2 separate regions of the Homo sapiens genome follow, and region 2 is linked to region 1. The links are contacts of gene promoters, found by promoter capture Hi-C in human tissues and cell types (Jung and others, 2019). All regions are on one chromosome and are shown on one strand. The core of a region is centred on a gene start or on the middle of the fragment in contact, and the rest is flanking DNA. Distances in the headings are between cores, read along the strand shown.

Evidence for each region. The method cuts DNA at HindIII sites, captures the fragments that hold promoters and counts their contacts. A contact is called where the count stands out against the background at its distance.
Region 2: a contact is called between a fragment that was not itself captured here and the fragment with the promoter of SERPINC1 in region 1, in 1 of the 25 tissues and cell types used here (bladder).

Annotation. Positions count from the first base shown.
Region 1 is chr1:173,915,143-173,918,909 of GRCh38, forward strand. SERPINC1 (serpin family C member 1) reads right to left here and starts at 2,185. Exons shown (of 7, transcript NM_000488.4): 1 at 2,077-2,185. The coding sequence starts at 2,117. It overlaps LOC124904457 (a long non-coding RNA gene), which reads left to right and starts at 1,358. Exons shown (of 2, transcript XR_007066739.1): 1 at 1,358-1,798. The HindIII fragment of the contact is 9,559 bases long and covers 1-3,767 here.
Region 2 is chr1:173,969,558-173,973,296 of GRCh38, forward strand. It overlaps RC3H1 (ring finger and CCCH-type domains 1), which reads right to left. Exons shown (of 20, transcript NM_172071.4): 8 at 2,952-3,070; 9 at 948-1,060. Among named protein-coding and RNA genes, the nearest start is that of RC3H1, 51 kb to the right of the region's middle. The HindIII fragment of the contact is 3,252 bases long and covers 176-3,427 here.

The DNA.
Region 1 (3,767 bases), core at 935-3,434:
TCATCTGATGGTTATTTGGAGTATTATGTGCTCAATTCCCCACGCTGGGAGAAAAAAGAATGAGAAGCTTCCTGTTTGTGACATGGAATGTGCATGCCTAAAAAATCGGCTTTAGTGCCCAGTGAAGAGTCAGGGTGGTAGGGGGAGCCATCTACAGAAACTGTTTGGGGAAGGACTCTGATAGATGCAGCAGAGAGATTTCAGCAACACAAGAGAAGTAAGAAGAAATGGATGGAGCAAAGGCAATATCTGGCCGGGTGCGGTGGCTCACGCCTGTAATCCCAGCACTTTGGGAGGCTGAGGCATGCAGATCACTTGAGGTTGGGTGTTCGAGATCAGCCTGGACAACATGGTGAAACCCTGTCTCTACTAAAAATACAAAAATTAGCTGGGTGTGGTGGCGCACACCTGTAGTCCCAAGCTACTAGGGAGGCTGAGGCAGAAGAATCACTTGAACCCAGGAGGCGAAGGTTGCAGTGAGCTGAGATTGTGCCACTGCACTCCAACCTGGGTGACAAAGTGAGACTGTGTCTCAAAACAGCAACAACAAACAAACAAACAAACAAAAACAATGGCAATATCTGTGTGCTGAAGATTCCTACATCTCTAGCTCCAGCCCTAACCCTTCCACTGAGCTCCAGACTGACTATTTGCTGGACAGTTCCACCAGGAACTCCTACAAGTTCTTCAGGGAAACAGGACCAAACTGAACTGGTAATTAATTCTCCCCCACAGGCCTGCTCCTGTGAGTGGGCTCAGTGAATCCCGTACAGAAACCTGAGAATCACCCTGGATTCCTCCCTCTCTCCTCCTCATTTAGTCAAACCCCAGAGTCAATCAGTTCACCCCAGAGTCAATCAGTTCTGTTTTTTTACTCTTTCACCAGTTATTGCCACTGCTTTAGTTCAGGCTCTCATCCCTTTTTATTGCCTGGAATTTTTAATAGTCGCCAACATGGATTCAATGAAGGTAAATGAAGCTAATTTCACATTTTAAAAAAATGAGGTAGTTGGGACACTCGATGAAGCAAATCAAGAGATAAAGTCTCTTGTAATATTTTTTGTAGATAAGACAGGGTGGGGCAGGGGCTGCCTCCAGCTGGTTTATGGTTCCTGCGTGTACACAAGGGGGTCTGTGTGTGGGTACTGGATCTTCCCATCTTCTCCTGGGAGAGAAAGACAGGCACCCAGTGCAGATTCACGGACGTGGTCCGTTGGGCAAGCCTGGGGCTGGCTGGAAGCTGGGGCAGCTGAGGGGGACTTGCCTTCTTGCGTGGTCTGAGTCCAGTTCTGCAGCCCTTTCAAGAACAGAGGTGCAAAGCCGGAGAGAAGCAGCGGCACCAAGGGAGATGTGGAAGGCAGGCTGAAGAAGCAGAGAGAGAGAGGAGAGGACCCTGCCATTCATCTTCCCATCTCCACTGCCTTCGGTTGCCCACTCTGTCCTTCAACTACATTTGGAAATGCAATTTGAGGCTGAGAGGACCCTGGGAGGGCTATGAAGCACAAATTAAAACCAAGACAGTTGTGCCACCACCCCGTTTCTAGCCTCCTGTGACAACTCAGATGAAGAAGGGAGTGTGTGTGGCATTGAGGGAGGGACAACTCTCATTGTGAGAAAAGGAAGCAGTTTTGGCCCTTTAGTCAAAGGTCACTGGGATTTGGGTGGGGGTGGAGTGGGGTGGATCTGAGTGGAAGAAAGAGCAAAAAGGGAGTGAGGAGGTCCTCATGGGTAGCATTTGCTCTCTTCCCGGATGGATGGCAGGCCCTGGGGATTCCCCTTGGAGCGTCCCCTGGATCCCGTGAGTGCTGACTTCCTGCACAGCATCTTTACACCAGGGATGACATCCCCCTTGTTTCTTAGGCTAGGGACCCAAGGGGTAGCTTAGGAAAGGCCTTACCCCAAGAGGTGGGGTGGGAGGGAGAGCACTTGAAATGACGTCTTCCAAACAGGTCTTTGACTGTAACTACCAGGGAGAGGGCCTGGTCTTCTCAAAGGTGTTGGAGGTCATTCCTGTGAGTCCTTTGGAGGTCACAAAACCCAGTAGGGGCAGGCAAGGGGAAAGCTCACCCCTCTTACCTTTTTCCAGAGGTTACAGTTCCTATCACATTGGAATACATGGCCGCTAATCTTCCACAGGGCTGGGCAAGTGGAGATAGTGTGATCTGAGGCAATCCGCCTGAAAACTGGTTCTTTCCTCTAAATCTCGCAGAGGTTCCAGAGGACAGGGTGGGGCAGAGAGCTGGTCAGGAGGGGGAACTGAGGTCAAAGGCTGATGACCAGTTCCCAGGGTTAAGCAAAGTGTAGAGCCCAGTGTTGTTTAATTAGTAGAGAAGTTTTAAAGTTCAATCAGGCCCAGGGAAAGCCTGAGCCACCTCTCTTGCCCACACTCCCTCACTCTTCTCCTCAGCTTTATAGAAAAGGAAAAGGAGAGTATGTTCATACCCTCAAACTTGGTTAGGAAACTAACCAAGGAAACAAACTTGGTTCATACCCACCCTCTCTCATAGTTTTCTTTATGGAGAGAGGGAGAGAGAGAGAGAAATATCTAATTAGAGAAGGCAAAGAGGGACAAGCTGCTACCTTCAGGCATCTGAGTGCCAAGGTGTCCCTGGCACAGACAAGGAAAACACAATGGTTACACCTGTGGCCCACAGAGAGACCCATTCCCCAGCAGCCCTGAAGTGGTGGGACAGGGAGAGAAGAGCAGGGCCTCGGGGTGCATGCCAAGCGCGTTTCTAAGGGGTGTGAGCAGCTGGGAAATACTTAGCAAAACTCTACTGGGGGATCAGGAGACAGAATGCGGGGCAGGTGAAAAACCCACGTACAACTGCTGAAATAAAAACAAACTAAATTATATTTATGTGTATCGTTATTTTTATTAGTTATTGGGGAGATTGGGTAAATTCAAACTAGTGGAGATAAAGGGCAGGTTTGTTTACATTTCCCTCTTCTGAAATAGCCAAAAGCACCATCACAAGGACTGCAGCCACCAAGTTCACAGGGCGCATGTGCCTCCTGCTGTGTGATCAAGGACTCCTTGTAGTTGTTGTTGCAGTCATAGGCATTTTCGAGAGCTCTTCGTTCATGAGAGAGGACATCTCTCCTGAACTGAAGCTGTGTCTAAGTTCTTGGCTGATTCAGACCCTGGATCCTTTGAAGCCCTCCATGTGCAGTGTGAACAGTAGCCGAGAACTGTCCCAAAGGGCCCCAGAATGCCCAGAGGCTCATCTGTCACCCTAGATTAAAGACTATTGAAAAGTCTCCTGTTCAACCACTTGAGTTCAACAAATACACGAGTGCTGCTTGTGCCAGCAGACACTGTTCTTGGGGCTGGGATTCCATTCGGGGGAGACATACAGCAATCACATAAAGAATCAGTATTTTAGGCCAAGCGTGGTGGCTCACACCTGTAATCCCAGCACTTTGGTAGGCTGAGGCAGGTGGATCACCTGAGGTCAGGAGTTCGAGACCGGCCTAGCCAACCTGGTGAAACCCCATCTCTACTAAAAATACAAAAAATAGCTGGGCATGGTGGTGGGCACCTGTAATTCCAGCTACTCAGGAGGCTGAGGCAGGAGAATCACTTGACCCCAGGAGGCAGAGGTTGCAGTGAGCCGAGATCGTGCTATTGCACTCCAGCCTGGGTGACAGAGCAAGACTCCATCTCAAAAAAAAAAAATCAGTATTTAAAAAATAAATATGTAACGTGCCAGTCAGATGTTAATAAGGTCCATAGAGAAAACTATAGCAGGGCAAGGATATAGGAA
Region 2 (3,739 bases), core at 552-3,051, 54 kb after region 1:
ACATTGGATTTATAAATAAATTAAGAGGCGGTGGGTGTGGTGGCTCCTGCCTGTAATCCTAGCACTTTGGGAGGCCAAGGCAGGAGGCTCCCTTAAGCCCAGGAGTTTGAGACCAGCCTGGGCAACATAGGGAGACCCTGTCTCTATTTTTAAAAAATAAAATAAAATAAAATAAAAATAAAAAAAATTAAGAGGTTTTTCCTTTCTTTCTTCAATGAGCTGAAAAATTTAACATCCCTGAAATTATCTTGTCCTTGAAGTTTAAAAGAATCTGTTAAACTGAGCCAAGGGCAAAATTTTCCACTGGAAATACATCATGCAATTAGTTAAATTAAGTTAAAATTGATTAAAATTATTATAATTTTAATTTTTTTTGTAGTGAAAATGACCCACTTTTAGATTTAGCTAATCATAAAATAGTTTCCTATCTATAGGCATGATGCAATAAAAGCTGAAGAAACTGCTTTTCATTTTTAAAAATTATGTACAGGTTGAATATCTCTTACCCGAAATGCTTGAGACCAGAAGTGTTTCAAGATTTGGATTTGTCTTGGATTTTGGAATATTTGCATATACATAAGGAGATGTCTTGGGGATAAGACCCAAATATATAACATGAAATTCATTTATATTTCATATACATCTTTTACACATAGTCTGAAAGTAATTTTATACATTATTTTAAATAATTTTGTGCATGAAGTTTTGACTGCTATCCATCACAAGGTCAAGTGTGGAATTTTCAACTTGTGGTGTCAAGTTGGCTTTCAAGCATTTTTGGATTTTGAAGCATTTCAGATTTTCAGAATAGGAATGTTCAAGCTGTGTTACATTCTAAAAATGTCCTATTCATTTAAGATAAAGCAGCTACTCTTTCTGTATTTCTGTATGTCAGCGAATTATTCCACTTACACCTTATTCCAAAGTCTCCTGACTTTCACACTTACTTTTCCAGTTCCTCCTGTGAGTGTGCAAATGTACAGCTGGCCCCACGAGGGCATCCTCCTCTCTGCTTCATATCTCGACACATGTATGTTTTGTATTTGCTATGCTGTGGAGGCTAAAACCAAAATCAAAACATTAGATGTGTAATAACCCCCCACAAAAAAACATAAATTTTGTGTTGTCATTTTAGGATCTTGATAATCTAGATAAGTAATTCACATATTTATTTAGATTACCAAGAGCAAAAGTGCTGGAAAGTCATTCTGTCTGAAGTTTCAAAGTCCAAATATAAATAAAGCAAAAACAAAGAAGGTAGTCCTAATTTTTCTGATATGTTGATATTAATTCTCAAACAAGTAGCATAATATAAATTCTTGAATAAATCTCATGGGCATTCTTATACTTGTATTATATGGAAAAAGAAAAAGCTCATGGGGACACTATGATCTCATTTCCACTTTTTTTTTTTTTTTTTTTGAGAAGGAGTCTTACTCTGTTGCCCGGGCTGGAGGGCAGCGGCGCAATCTTGGCTCACTGCAACTTCCACCTCCCCGGCTCAAGCGATTCTCCTGCCTCAGCCTCCTGAGTAGCTGGGATTACAGGTGTCCACCACCGCACCTGGCTAATTTTTGTATTTTTAGTAGAGACAGGGTTTCATCATGTTAGCCAGGCTGGTCTCAAACTCCTGACCTCAAATGATCCGCCTGCCTCAGCCTCCCAAAGTGCTTGGGATTACAGGTGTGAGCCACTGTGCCCAGCCCATTTCCACATTTTATAATGAAAAAACAAACCACTGTAGTTTAAGACTTTCAAATATATAAATTATCTTCTAATATTTGTTTTGTACAATGTTCAATATAGCTATATGTATGTTTCCATACAACATACCACAAAAACTACAAAAGGCCCTATAATCAAAGAATATTCTGTAACTAATTCTTCTTGACATGCAGAATAATATATGAAGAACTTAAAATAGTTCCAAAAGTACAAATGACACTTATTATTTATAACTCAAGGATAAGGCAGGAGGATGGATTTGAAAGTTAATGAAATATGAGACACAACACTAAACTGGACAAAATTTAGTGTATTTTATCACTATATGGCAGACTTTAAAGGTTAGTCTCATTACTCTTGTTATTTTCTTCAAGATGTCTAATGAAACAGAGAGTTAAAAACTGTAGGTTCTCCTTTCTTTTATGCCTATTCATAAATAAAGCTTTGACCTGTGTTAGATAGGTTAGGAAAATCATATCCAGATTATTTTACTTAGCAGGATAATTTTTATATTTCTTGCCTCTTAAGCAAAAAGGAATACTGAGTAACCTATTTATATTTACCTGAACCAGGTAAATTAAGAGTTTTACGTTCACAGGCTTACTACTGCAAAATAAAAGATCTAATGAACCTAATATAAATCCTGAGAGCAAAATAAAATTACTGGGAATAAAATTTAAAACTCTAGCTATAAGAAGTTATTATATTCTACCATCGTATTTTCATCTAAAAACTTTGAGGGAGATTTGGCCCAATGGCATAAGACATTATGAATGAAAAAAATCTTAAAATATTAATAAGAAAATCTATAGAAATTTGAACAGTATTGGAAAGACACAGTATTAGCACTAAAAAGTGATACTTATTGTCAAACCAAAATGTTAAACAAACTAAAGAGAATAATAATCTTATATAAATGGAATAAACTTCAGCACTGAATCCATTTTCTCCATCAAATGCTGCCATATCCAATGTGAAGACTGACCCCAGCATGACATCAGATCAATAAGGATTATTTAATGTCAATATTGTCAGATAAAGTTATCAGCCTAATGCAGTAAACTGTTAACCATGCCAAGGTAATTTACAGTTTCTATACTCAGAGTCTCAAAATGTTCATGTTATCTTTTTGGCTTTGTATCTGTAGGTATACCCACAGTGGTTTACCTATAGTTTTAAGGCATATCCACAGTGGGTTAACTCTAAGTTTTAAACAGCTTCCTTACCTGCTGCTGATCTGCTCCTTTTTTGCTGTGGTTCTGGATATAATCAACCAGCCCATGTACCACTGTACGCACAGCAACCAGCCCATTTTCCAGCTGTTCCCAAGTAGGAGGAGGAGCATCTATACAACCAATGATAATGTTTTAAACTCTAATGTTACTCAAAATTTTCCCTAATATCAAATTAATAAAAGAGTTACTTGAAAACATTTCAGTGAAATCAAGCTTCACACCTTAGCTTTTTAGATAATAGCTTATTCACCTAACCATCATTTTAAAGGAATGGACATATTCTTTCAAAGCTGGGGTTGCAAACTGAAATAACCATAGGAACAAGAAAGGTAACATGAAAGAGGTAAATAGGCCACACAATAGTGGTAACTGTCATTAGACTCTCAGTGTTGAGGAGACAACAACGAGTGACAGGGACTGCTGAACTGGGGAGCATGTCCCTCATCTAAGAGTATGGTTATAACTCAGCTTTAGATGATTGTTGTTATGTGATGATGCAAGGCTGGCACTGCCAGATACATTCACTGTTTCCCAGGGAAACCTGAAACTTGAGATTTTTAAGTAAAAATTTCCCAGTTTTAAAATATTGGCATCTAAGAAATTTAGACCATTGCTCAGACCAACACTGTGTGGATTAAACAAAACTGAGGACTGTCTACAGTTAGTCAATTTGCATGTTTATTTTGAACTTTTATATAAATAAAGTTTTGGTAAACAAAAAGCTTAAAAAGTTTAATAAGCCGGGCACAGTGGCTCAGGCCTGTAATCTCAGCACTTTC